Linked DNA regions of Homo sapiens: all the other regions are linked to region 3. Evidence: promoter capture Hi-C in 16 types of primary human blood cells and fetal thymus (Javierre and others, 2016). All regions are on one chromosome and are shown on one strand. Each heading gives the region's core, a stretch centred on a gene start or on the middle of the fragment in contact. The rest is flanking DNA. Distances are from core to core; before and after follow the strand shown. Region 1 holds the start of SLC30A7 (solute carrier family 30 member 7). Region 2 holds the start of SASS6 (SAS-6 centriolar assembly protein). Region 3 holds the start of ALG14 (ALG14 UDP-N-acetylglucosaminyltransferase subunit).

Region 1 (4,220 bases), core at 775-3,274, 5.8 Mb before region 3:
CACTCTTGATACAAAATATGCATATATAAGCTATGATACACTCCTGATACAATCAGCACATATCCCAAAATTAATTTGGCATAATTTAGGAAGAGAAAAATGTAAAATATACTGTAAATATTATATATTTATGATAAAGTATGATTATTCAAGTACAAGTGCTTTCAACATCTACAGTATATTAAAGTGTGTTAATACTATGGGATTAAAAAATTAATCTATGATGGGGTATCCTTCAAATTAACACATCTGATTCCCAAAGGATTCAAAATGGTTATTACATATATTAAGATTTCATTGTGCCAATATGCCTTTATACCCAACTGTTGACTAAACCAATAACCTTCATAATCTGCTGGTTATTGAGTATTTTTTATAGAACTGAATTGACGGTTGAATTGAAAGAAGCCCAAGCATTATATAAAAGTATACATGTCACAAAACCTGGTGATATTACCTGTCAATGTTTGATCTCAACAGAAGATCAAGGACAGCGATTTTCTCTGAAAATGGGTCTTAAACAACAGAGACTAAGTCTATTTAATAAATAGAAAACAGGTTCTTAATCTAGAGTCCAAGATTTAGTACAGGGAACCCAACAACATCCTGAAGCTTTATGTACAATTCTGAGTATTGGCTTTCATCAGATTTTTGAAGGAGTATGGGATCTAAAGACAGAATTAGTACACCTAGGAGTGTGACAGTCTTGTTAGCAGAACAACTTCATAAGACCTTAAGTTACTCAACAGCAAATACCTGAATAATAGTAACTTCACTGCCACAGAGTTACACACTAGATTTTCCTCCTCCTAAGGATGTTTCAAAAAAAACAAAAACCCTCAAAGGTGCCACCAAAACCCAAGAAATGTTGTTTCTAGAAACTATATGGGATTTTTACATCGCAGTTAAGACTACAGGAAAATCATGAGACAGTTTCGGCATTAAAGAGAGAAGAGAATGACACATATTCCTCCCGATATCACTTTATAAAACCTCCCATTCCAAGCCCCAATAACAAACTAAGTAGAACATCTCAGATATACTCTCTCAGAATCTTAAGGGTGAAATCCAAATGCCACTCCCCCCCGAGAGAGGCAGCAAACAAGTTTCTCCCAATTCCAACAAAGTGGGTAAACCTAAGGCCTACAATTAGAAATGAAAGATTCTGCCCATCTGCTAAAATAAGGAGGGGCTTGTCAGTCTTGTCTGATGGAACTGGAGGGGAGCGTGACAAGAGAGGTTGCACAGGATAGGCCCAGATCTTACTCAAGAACTGTAGCCCTACCAGATTGGTGTGGGTATGAGAAAGCAACTCAGCAGCAGAGGTAGGTAACAAAGGTAGGACCTGAACCTCCTAGTGAGGAGCTACGTGGCATTAAGCAAACAGTGCTTCGTCTCCCTCACACCCAGCTTCCGCCCAAACCATTTTCCCCTTTGGTTACCAGTTGCTCCAGATGCCGTAGAGTAGTTCCACAAAAGCGAAAGAGAGGTTCAGGCACAGGAAGAAAAACAGGTTCCGGGAAGTCTTGTCGGACAGTATAGACCTGGGAATGATACACGTGGAAAAGAGCCGGGAGAGTTAAGGAGGTGCCGGGACCCCGAGGCTGGGTACCCTCTTCAAGACCCTCCCAGTTCACATGCTCCTTTCTTCACAGCTAGGGGTTGACGGGGAGTTTTTGACTCTCCCTCACTGGACCTCGGGCCATCCTGAGGTCTGGGCCTTCTCCCTTTCTGCCGGACACCCCCTCCCCGCAAACACAGCACCCCGCACCTAAACCAGCCCGAGATCTTGCCGAACAAATTGAACTTGGGTGGTTTGTATTCATCGTCTTTGATGGACAGGGGCAACATCTTCTCTGCCCGGCGAAGGGCCGGGTCTACTCCCCTCTAGAAGTGGCTCCGTGGGGTGATGGCAGTGACAGTAGTGACGCCTCAAACGGGAATCCCCAGCGCTTGTCCGGGGCCGCGCGCCGCTGCGAGACACAGACAGACACAGACACACACCCGGGAATTCGCTTACTTCCGGCCCGGGCCGCGCAACGCGTCCTGGGACAGGAAAGGAGGGAGGCCGGTCGCGGGCGGGGCCTGCGCGGCGGAGGGCGTGGCTTGCGGCGGGGGCGGGATGAGAAAGGTGCTGGAGCTGTTGGAGGGACGCCAGGAGGTGGCAACTACCAGGGGGTGTGAGGGGCTGACCTGGGATGGAATCCTGCCACCCGGACTCAGGAAGAAAATCCTGAGGTGGCGACCTGCAGACTGGGCTGGGAGATGGAGAGCCCGCTCACGCCCACCCGACCGCCTACCACCAGTGTTCCCGGATGCATGGGCTCCAGCGCCTGCCCTTTCGCCATTTCCTCCCAACTGGCATTAAATCCTGGTGTGGTAGATATCAGTGATTAAGAGTCTAGGCAGCCACGTGTTCTATTGCCGCCAGTCCGCAGGAAACGCAAGTGATCGTTTTGCTGCGTTAACTCTATGGGCGCCCAAATCTTAGGAATCCATTCCACGCCACCCCGAAAACAGCGCTTGACCCTTCTGGACTGCCACGCAGGAGGCGATCAATGTTTTTCTTTCTTTATTTTTTTAAGAGACAAGGTCTCGCCCTGTCACCTAGGCTGGAGCACAATGAGGCTCACTACAGCCTGGAACTCCCGGACGCAAGTGATCCTCCTCAGCCTCCGGAGTAGCTGAGACCTCAGGCGTGCGCCACCATGCCTGGCATCAATCAATGTCTTTCAAAATAAAGGCTGTTAAACGTAGTATAGGAAAGAAGCTTTTTAATGGTAGGTTCTACCAGACGTGTTTGTTTGATTTTTAGGTTTGGTTAATGCATTGTTTCCCGTACAATCTCAACCCGCGGAAACCCCGAAACTCTAGAATTCGTGCCGGTCTCTTTCGCTTCCAGGTCATCCCCGGGGCAACGGCCGCCGCTCTAATTCTTGTCAGAACCTCCAGGCCAGTTTCAGCAACGTGCAGGCAGAAGCTGGCCCCTCGGTGGGATGCGAGGGCGTGTGGAGCGCGGGGAGGAGAGCCCCACAGGCCTTTCCTGGGCACCCGCGGTGGATGGGAAGGCTCCTTCGGGCGCCTTTCAGGGAAGTTGTTTGGCTGAGGGAAGGTGGTCCGTCACGTGAATGTTTAAAAGTTGTTACCTTGGAGAAGAAATGGAGGAAAGGATTGGCTTTCGGAGGTGGGCTGGAAACTACAAAACCGAGCTTCCTGGGAATGCCTTTTAGGCCGACAGGAAGTGGAGCGTCACCGAAAGGGAGGGGCGGCCACTCGGGGACTGTCCCTTGCTCCAGGCGCTCACTTTGCGGGCGGCACTTTTTCCAGGTTGTTAATCCAGCTAATGGAGAAGGATAGATGCACGCTACTTGGTTTAGAAAAAAAAACAAAAATGAGCAAACGAGACGCCCCTTCCGTTTTATGATAACTAAGCTGCAGGGAAATAAATCGGCTGGCCCTACTGCAATCTACTGCACTCGAGGTAAGGAGACACAGCAAAATGCTCCAGTATTAGTATTTTTCTTTTTGTAGTGAGGATATATGCATGTTTTGCTCTCGTTCTGAGAACTTTGTGTGTGTGTATGGAGTATTCGGTGGTTTTATTTTTGAAAATATGTACTTATTCTACAATTTTGAAAAATGTTAATTAAAACTGCTGTGTAAAAACAGCTAGGTTTCAGAAGTAAGTTCTGGGAAGAGTATTTTGTATTTGCCTTTGTTAGCGTATATTTCATTCTTTTAATTTAAGTGTAGAAATATTTAAAATTAGTAGCATTTACTCTTTTTTTGGAAGGAAGTTTTTGTATTAGCAGTAGACCTTGAATTTTACTCTACTGCACTGCTGAGGAAAAATTAATTGGGTGCAAACTAGATAGTTTAAAGATAAATAATTCTATGGTAATTGGATTTTTCTCCAAAACGCCCTTATTCAATATGATTTAACTTGGGAGAAGGCGGGAGAAGTAATAGAAATAATTAAATTTCAGCAACTGATTTCCAGCATAATCCTAACTCATCAAGGTCAGCTGCATTTTGAACTTTTTTGTATTCTGCCTTTGAAAATAAGTCCTATATTTTATACTGTATTGCTACAAATCAGAAATCGCTTAAGTGGTTTATGGAGAAACCTACATTACCTCTTTTCAAATAGTTTTGAAATGGGTACGAGAAATTGAAGTTTAATTTCAGTTACATCAGTTTCCAGAGACTCCCAAATTCCC
Region 2 (4,681 bases), core at 1,306-3,805, 5.1 Mb before region 3:
TATTCTTTTAAAAATTTATTTCTGTTCGAATGTGCCTCTCAGCATGTCCATGAAGCTATTCACACTGAATTTCATGGGAAAGCTAAGAAATTTTTTTTTTGAAAATACTATATATTCAATAGAAGAAAAAGAAAATACTGTATATAATTTCTTCCTTATTGCTGACTTTAAATCCTAACCTCCATGTAAAAGACTATTCTAACCCCCAGAGCCTAACTGTAGCATAGGAAAAAAAAAGCACATTTAAAATTTATTAGTTGAATTTAGAAACAGGAATTCTCAATCTTGGCACTATTGACGTTTTGGGCAGGTAATTCTTTTGAGGGGGTGAGTGCAGGGGGCTGTCCTGTGATTTGTAGGAGGTTTAGCAGCATTTCTGGTCTCTATCCATTAGATGTCAGTGATACTCCTCAGTTTGACAACCAAAATGTCTTCATTTTGCCAAGTGTTCACTGGAGGCAAAATCAGTCCCAGTCGAGAACCACTGGGTAAAAATGAGTGGTGTCATCACAGCTATATATGACACTTAGAAAAAAAGATGGAAACACAACATCCAGTTACATCATAAATTACAGATTCAGGAGGATAGCCACAATTTAAAACGAGATAGTAGTCAATAAAAGTGTTTCCACTTGATGTTTTGCGGTCTCTCTTCAAGTGTCTAATGACAATATGTCGTTCCTCTATAGGAATACTAATCAGCTTGTAAGGATTTATTCATATTCTACTATCATCACTATTTGTTTTCACCTTCCATATATCTGGATAAGGTGGAGTCTAAATCCTTCTCCTATCATAACTCTCATTCTTCAACAAGGGATGTTTGCCAGTCCCCTCAAAACCAGTCAATAGACTATGGGCATAATTCAGAGTTCCCACAACAAATCACGTCTCCCATATTCCAAAACAAGAATGTCCTTGTTTCAGTATGCTTCACTTTTGGTAAATGCCAGTCAAAACAAAATAGGAAGTAGACTACAACTATGATGGAGAGTGGCAGATGAAGGGGGTCAGGGGACTGATCTGCACTGGATATTGTCTAGAAGAATAAATTCCTTAAGAAATAAAATAATGCAAATAATACTGAACATTCAGAAGCATGAAATCTGATGCTGATCGCTTTGGTTTATTCTTTATAGTTCTGTGGAACTATAAGGACATGCTCTCTTCCTATGAGCATTTTGCTCCTCTGGTTTTTATTTTCCCATCTCATATATATCCTAAAGTAATATACATATATACAAATATAAAGTGTTTGATAGTACATTTATATGCATAATTATCAAACAAAATTGTATGCTTTGTTCTCAATTGTAAAAGGTCAATTCGTATATATTTAAAAATCTTTCCTTCCCATTCCAGCAAAGTTGCATTCTTAAAAACTGTAAGTCGAAAAAAATTTTTTTTTCTTTTTTGAGATTCAGTCTGGCTGTCACCCAGGCTGGAATGCAGTGGTGTGATCTTGGATTATTGCCACCTCCACCTCCTGGGTTCAAGCGATTCTCCTGCCTCAGCCTCCCGAGTAGCTGGGGTTACAGGCTCGCACCACCACGATTTTCTTAATTTTAGTAGCTCGCGCCACGGCTGATTTTCTTATTTTTAGTAGAGAGAGGGTTTCATCATGTTGGCCAGGCTGGTCTCGAGCTCCTGACCTCAAGTGATCCGCCCGCCTCGGCCTCCCAAAGTGCTGGGATTACAGGCGTGAGCCACCGCGCCGGGCCTCAAGTCTAAATTTTTAAAAGAAAGTTTCTTCCAACCGCATTCACGAGAAGTGCTTCTCTTTCATGAAATAACAATTAGAACACAACTAGTGAAACCTTTGGGACTTCAATCACTACTTTTTCTAAACTACCACTTTCCAGCAGGAAGACGGAGCGGTAGCTTGGGGTAAAAATTAAAACCTAGCATTACCATGAGTTAAGATCGAGATAAATAGATCAAAATAAATGGGTCACTGCTGGCGCTTTACTTAGAAAAATAAAAAATTTCTCATCACTAGAACTCATAATCGCTCCGCAAGGAGGGCAAAACTGGGTTTATTAAAGTGAAAGCTGGAGAATCCAGGGGACACAAGCAGAAAGCTGTCAAAGAGGGGAGGGGCCGGGTTCCAGCACCGACAGGACCAGGATACTTATTTCCGACTCTTGAGAGAGTAGGGCGATACCACACCTCCGCGGCTCCAGCGTGTTCACCACAAAATCTTTTCCCTGCGGCCACCACCATCCTGCAGAACCGTTTCTTCTTTTCCACATAGTAACCGCATCTACCCTCAGCTGGAAAACCAGGCGCGTGCGGCGACGTCGCGGAGGTCGCCATAATTCTAGGGCTCGCTTCCGGTGTCCAGCATCCGGCAACCAGAAGAAAAGTTAGAAGCTTCCTTCGGGTCTCCTTCCCTTAACAAACATGGCTGCCTCAGCCCCCGCGCCACACAGGTTAATACCCGGAACTACCACAACCGTCTTCCCTTTATCCTCCGCAGAACCGGAAGAATCCGATGGTGGCTGGCGAGGGCCAAGTCTCTTACGCCTTCCCCTCGTTTCTCCCTCCCCGCCTCCTCCGCAGAAGCCGAGCGCCAAACTCAAACTTTATCAGGACCCGGACCTCTCAGGCTAATCCCGAGGGCCGGGCCTGTTGGGCTTTTCTGCACACCAGCCGAGGCAGCGAGCCAACATGAGCCAAGTGCTGTTCCACCAACTAGTCCCGTTGCAGGTGAAATGCAAAGACTGTGAGGAGAGGTAAGGTCCGCGTCATCCAGTGCCCGCGGGTGGCGGTTGGGGTCAGGCCAATGGGGAAAGATGGCGGTTCTGGCCCGTGGGATCCACCTTGCACCTAGGTGTCGAGTCGGCCCCCCTAGGAAGCGGATAGGGAACCCAGAGGGCCCGGTGGTTACCTCTCTCACCAAGTCGGCCGTTGCAGAGGGGACTGGAGGAAGGGTGTGAGGAGTTAGGAAGCCGGCTCACATCAAGTTAATGTCAAAAACCCTACCTGTGCACGGAATCGTGAAGATTATAGCCCTACTCTTCCCTTTTGACAGATAAGAACTCTGGCCCAGAGAAGTTAAAAAAATTTACGTGAGGGCTCACAGCCAGTTCATGGCAGGGTCAGGACTAGAACTCAGGCCTTGGCTCCGAGCCTTTCCCCCTCGTTCTCTTTTGAAGTATGTTGGCAGTAAAGTTCAACTTTTAAAAACCTACCAATTTGGTGGCGTACTTTGGCTCTTCACATCAGTTGCTTTAAAAAAGTAAATTACATTTAACCGACTAAAAATGAGAAAAGCAGAAACGTCATTAATTCATTCAATAAATATTGCCTCCTTGTAAAACACCTTACTGGGCACTGGGAATACAGTGGTCAGGAAAAACAGTCCTTTTCTTCATGGAGTTTACAATCACTGGAGGAAATAAAGACCAGTCGCACAGAGAAGTGCAACTTTGATTAAGGAGGTGGTATTATTGGGGCGTAAATAGATTTGACCAGAGGTCAGGAGACTTACTTTTTTTTTCTCAGTTCTAACACTCAATGGTTGTCTCTTTTTTTCTCTGAACGTTCTTTCCTCATTTGTAAAACTGATATAACATGCGTATTCACGTGTTTGTAATGAGGATCAGGTGTGAAATCTTTTGCGTATTCACGTGTTTGTAATGAGGATCAGGTGTGAAATCGTATGTGAAAACTAAGTGGTGTACAAATGTAACATAAAAAATGAAGACATTGCCTTATTGAGTTGCCAGTAATGTCAAACTGTAGTATATATAGTTCAGAATTCGGTCAAAAATCAATGGCAAGCCGGTCAAGGAGATGGTCCCAAAACCAGCAGCTGCATATGGAGATCTGTAGGTTTAGTTGATCATTCTTTTAATGCTGTCCAGTATGGTAGCCACTAGCCACATGTGGTTATTAGACATTTGAAATGGGGCTTATCTGAATTGTTGTGCTTTACATATGAAAATGCACGTTGGATTTTTAAGACTTACTATGAAAAAAGAATGTAAAATATGTCAATTTTTATATTATGTGTTAAATGGCAATATTTTTGGGTATATTGGGTTAAATACAATGTATTATTAAAATTAATTTCACCTGCTTTTAAAAGTCTTTTTAAAATGTGACTTCTAGAAAATTTAAAAGTAGGCTAGGTATGGTGGCTCACACCCGTAGTCCCAGCACTTTAGGAGGCCAAGACAGGAGGATTGCTTGAGCCTAAGCTTGAGGTTACAGTGAGCTACTATTTGTGCCACTGTACTCCAGCCTGGGTGATAGAGCGAGATCCTGTCTCTGAAAAAAAAAAAAGAAAAAGAAAAAAATTAAAATTACATACCTGGCTCACATTTGTGGCTTACATTGTATCTCCATTGGACAACACTGTTTTAGAATGATTATAGAAAGATAAAGGAGGCCATGACTTTGGTTTCAATATGGAAACTCCTAGATGGTCTCTTTCTGGTTACATTGCCATCACAGTTAATCTAAAAACTCAATTTCTCTGCTTAGAAACCTTTAATATATTCCTATTATCTGTATAATAGGGGTCAGCAAACTGGAGCACATGGGCCAGTTGGCTCACTGTTTTCGTAAATAAACTTTTCTTGGAATACAGCCATGCTCATTTGTTTACATATTGTAGCTGCTTTTGCACAGGAAGGGCAGAGATGAGTAATTGTGACAGAGACCTTATGGCCCG
Region 3 (4,246 bases), core at 772-3,271:
TTATTAGGAATGGCAGAGTGGGCATATACAAGTAAATGATACTCCTTGTATTATCCTTGAGCTGTTTTTCTTACTACACCAAAGACCCTACCTCTGGACTTCCAACTACGCATTTGTAAGCCCAGAGAATTCTGATTCCATTAAAATTTGAGAGACACTGACTTCTAAGTCCACAACTATGAACTTTCTCCACCCTTACTAGCTAAGTAGACTTAGGCAAATTATTTAACTTTTATGGAATCTACTTCTTTGTCTGTAAAAAGGGAACTAATATCCACTTTAAGGTCTTACTGCGAGAATGTATAGTTAAGAAGATTTGATGGAGCCGGGCGCAGTGGCTCATGCCTGTAATCCCAGCACTTTGGGAGGTAGAGGCGGGCAGATCACCTGAGGTTAGGAGTTCGAGACCAGCCTGGCCAACATGGTGAAACTCTGTCTCTACTAAAAAAAAAAAAAAAAAAAATAGCCAGGCATGGTGGTGCATGCCTGTAGTCCCAGCTACTTGGGAGGCTGAGGCAGGAGAATCGCTTGAACCTGGGAGGTGGGGGTTGCAGTGAGCCAAGATTGTGCCACTGCACTCCAGCCAAGCGACAGAGTGAGACTCTGTCTCAAAAAAAAAAAAAAAGAAAAGAAAAGAAAAGAAAGAAGATTTGATGGAAGACAATTTGGAAAGTGTTGTAAGGTCCACGGACTCTACTCACAAAGTCTCCCAAACTTGCTTGCTGATAGGAATGGACACGCTGGTTACATAAGCTAATCCCAGGTGCCCGATCCCCGGAAATTCTGATTCAGTGTTTCCTAATGGACCCTGGGAGTCTGCACCTTTAATAACACATTCTAGGCTCCAGGTAAGTGTGGTGATCAGGCAAGTTTGAATTTAGCAAAGGAATACAGGATGCAGTACTCCTGTCCAGCAGGACTCAGATTTCTGGTTTCTGATTCTAGATCTGACGCTATTCCACTTGGGCAAGCAGTTGCACCTTTCTGAACCTTTTTACTCATCTGTATACCTGTTCAATATAACCTACAGGTAGGTCTATGGTGGACCGAAGGCAAATTATATTTGGGGTGAAGGGGCTCCTGATCTTAGTATTTTATGTTGTCGTAATGTGGATTAATTAGACATAATTAATTTATTAACAATTAATTAATTAGACATAAGCAAAATTGAGATTGAAGGGGGTGTTGGCAGATCATCATTTTGGCTGAGGACATGAGAAACACACTGGAAATGCTTTGTGATAAAATTAACTGAATATTAATTGTAGGACTGTGCCTTGTCTATCCTGCTACCTAGAGCCACTGAGCTTTGCAATCCTCTTAGGAGTGTGGCTTACCTTTAGGTGGTCACCCTCAACTACTCTGGTCACACTGAGAGCTGTGAAAACCTCGAGAAAAGTTAAAAACATACATGTTGGGAGACAGGGGGTTTGGATGAGGGCCCTAAATTCGATGTTTAAGCCTAGGGTCCTTACTGGCGAACACTTTCAGTAATGTCTGTGTGCAACAGAAACATTTCTCTTGGCATTAAAAAAAAAAAAAGAAAGAAAGAAAGGATGTATTCCCTTAGCTTCAGGTGGCATTCACGAAGTTGACAGAGCCAGAACACCTCCTAACTGGGGAGTTTCGGGACCTTTAGGGCGCAGAGACTGCCTGACCTCGTCGTGGGCGTAAATCAAGCTTCCCCAGCGCTTAACTTTACAATTTTCAGCTTACGCTTGGCTGCAGCTGCGCACAATCCGCGCAGAAGCAGGGGTTCCGCTGACAAACGTGAACGTACAGAACGTAGAAACCTTTTAACGCTAATATGCAGTTTCCCTGTATGGCTGTTGTGCATTATTAATCTAGGTATTGCGTATTTAGTTTAGGAAACACGAATACTACATGATAAATGAGGTAAAATGGATTGTGACTGGGACCTCAGCTTCTCCGTCGCCTCCACTCCTCCCAGCTCAGGAAAGACCAGCCCACCAAGACGTGCGTCCTCCGCGTTTGAGTCGCTTCGGCACCCGTAGTTGTGAACTTTGACAGCGGCTGGTCCCCGGAAGTTGGACGCATGCGCCGTTTCTCTGCATGGTGTGCGTTCTCGTTCTAGCTGCGGCCGCAGGAGCTGTGGCGGTTTTCCTAATCCTGCGAATATGGGTAGTGCTTCGTTCCATGGACGTTACGCCCCGGGAGTCTCTCAGTATCTTGGTAGTGGCTGGGTCCGGTAAGTATCGAGGAGGCGACTGTCGGACTTGGGTTGGTCACTACAAACCCCAGAGTGCACCGCGACGCTCTTCCCTGGTACCCTTAGCACTTCTTGGAGTGTTGCATGCAGAGATTTGTAGTTTCTCTGCCTTGCCGGAACCGGGCAGTCCAGCCAGGGTAGGGGCTGGTTTGCTGACGCGGCCCAGAGGTTTTTTTTATGACAAGTAATTTACACTTGTCTATAATTAAGACTCTCTGTAGCGTATATTTTTCAAACAATTAGTGAACAGAGAACGTAGAAGCCTTTTGATGCAAACATGCAGTTTCCCCGTATGGCTGTTGTGCATTATTAATCTAGGTATTGCGTATTTAGTTTAGGAAACACGAATGCTACATGACAAATGAGGCAAAATGAATTGTCACATTTATAAATATACAAAGTCCAAGAGGATAAAAACAATGATCTACGGGCTGTAGAACAATACACACGCGGTGGCAGAGTGTGAGCAACACACTGACCTGTCAGGTAATACAATCTAAATCCACCAACTCTGTAGGTGCTTACAATTTTAAATACACATATTTGACAGGGACAGACAGACACACACAGACACAATGTAAACATTTGGGTATGGCAGGAGATTGCATCCAGATAGAACATGTATAGTATGAGTAAATGTACTAAGTTTATGTTCAAGTATAACGCATTACTTTATTCACTTAATCTGTTTTGAGCTGTTAGAAAGACCAAACACTAAACTAACCTCTGGAAATAACAAAACTGACTAACATTACTTGCCACGGAGTGCTGACTCCGTGCTAAGTCCTGTGAGAGATGCAAAGATACAGCAGTAAATGAAATAGAGAATACAAAAAAACTAACAGAAAATAAATCAAAATGAGTATTTGCCACAATGAGATAAATGCTATAATCTTGTAATAATTGTGTAAGAAGTACAAATTGCTATGGCAGTCTTCAGGAAGGGCACTACTTTATCAGGTCTTAAAAAACAGACAGCTTCCTGGAAGAAATGATGCTAAACTGAAACTTGAAAGATGACCCAGAATTAGTCAGATGAGGGACAGCCAGGGTTTCGAGGGCTGGGAGGATGTGAAAAGAAGGTGATAACACTTGGAATGACCAGAGTTGAGAGAACACTATCGTGTAGAGTTCAATGTAGGGAGGTAAACTGAGTCCAGATTGTAAAGAGTATTTAAAATCTTGCTTTTTTTCTTTTTTATACAGAGTCTCACGCTGTTGCCCAGGCTGGAGGGCAGTGGCGCAGTCTCAGCTCACTGCAACTCCACCTCCCAAATTCAAGCCATTCTCCTGCCTCAGCCTCCCGAGTAGCTGGGATTACAGGCGCACCACCACACTCAGCTAATTTTTGTATTTTTAGTACAGACAGTGTTTCACCATGTTGACCAAGGCTGGTCTTGAACTTCCGACCTCAAGTGATCCTCCTGCCTCAGCATCCCAAAGTGCTGGGGTTGCAGACGTGAGCCACCCCTGGCCTAAAATCCTGCTTTATAAAGCAATTGCTGCTACTCCACTGTTGATATCATGTAGGGGTTAAGACCACAGGCCTCTAGGTTGTCATAACACCACACATGAATCACATTTCTGCCACTTACTACCTTGGGGATCTCAGGCAATTAGTTAACCTCGCTGAACCTTCTGTTTCTACATGGGTTGAGAGAGGACAGGAGAGATTAAATAGGATCATATTTAAAGTGTTTAGGCCGGGCGTGATGGTTCACACCTGTAATCTCAGCAATTTGGGAGGCCGATACAGGCGGATTGCTTGAGCTTAGGAGTTGGAGACCAGCCTGGGCAACATAGTGAAACCCTGTCTCTACATTAAAATAAATAAATAAATTAGGTGGATGTGGTGGCATGCACCTATAGTCCCAGCTATTTGGGAGGCTGAGGTAGGAGGATCACTTGAGTCTGGGAGGTGGAGGTTGCAGTGAGCTGAGATTGTGCCACTGCACTCCAGCCTGGTTGACAGAGTGAGACCCTGTCTCAAAATGAAATAAAATAAAATGATATAAT

Evidence for each region. The method cuts DNA at HindIII sites, captures the fragments that hold promoters and counts their contacts. A CHiCAGO score of 5 or more calls a contact.
Region 1: a contact is called between the fragment with the promoter of SLC30A7 here and the fragment with the promoter of ALG14 in region 3, in 1 of 17 cell types (naive CD8 T cells). The highest score is 5.0, in naive CD8 T cells.
Region 2: a contact is called between the fragment with the promoter of SASS6 here and the fragment with the promoter of ALG14 in region 3, in 4 of 17 cell types (non-activated CD4 T cells, naive CD4 T cells, total CD8 T cells and 1 more). The highest score is 15.9, in non-activated CD4 T cells.

The regions. Positions count from the first base shown.
Region 1 is chr1:100,893,894-100,898,113 of GRCh38, reverse strand. It overlaps SLC30A7 (solute carrier family 30 member 7), which reads right to left and starts at 2,024. Exons shown (of 11, transcript NM_133496.5): 1 at 1,772-2,024; 2 at 1,443-1,544. The coding sequence starts at 1,851. EXTL2 (exostosin like glycosyltransferase 2) reads left to right here and starts at 3,272. Exons shown (of 5, transcript NM_001033025.3): 1 at 3,272-3,481. RefSeq lists enhancers at 1,520-1,679, 1,730-1,979, 2,530-2,599, 2,494-3,216, 3,217-3,940. The HindIII fragment of the contact is 2,158 bases long and covers 615-2,772 here.
Region 2 is chr1:100,130,804-100,135,484 of GRCh38, reverse strand. SASS6 (SAS-6 centriolar assembly protein) reads left to right here and starts at 2,555. Exons shown (of 17, transcript NM_194292.3): 1 at 2,555-2,735. The coding sequence starts at 2,671. TRMT13 (tRNA methyltransferase 13) reads right to left here and starts at 2,322. Exons shown (of 11, transcript NM_019083.3): 1 at 2,170-2,322. The coding sequence starts at 2,316. RefSeq lists silencers at 338-632, 2,770-2,933 and enhancers at 2,108-2,637, 2,648-2,767, 2,172-2,774, 4,548-4,597. The HindIII fragment of the contact is 1,832 bases long and covers 2,376-4,207 here.
Region 3 is chr1:95,070,726-95,074,971 of GRCh38, reverse strand. ALG14 (ALG14 UDP-N-acetylglucosaminyltransferase subunit) reads left to right here and starts at 2,021. Exons shown (of 4, transcript NM_144988.4): 1 at 2,021-2,209. The coding sequence starts at 2,074. RefSeq lists enhancers at 1,900-2,259, 2,500-2,579. The HindIII fragment of the contact is 2,572 bases long and covers 1,683-4,246 here.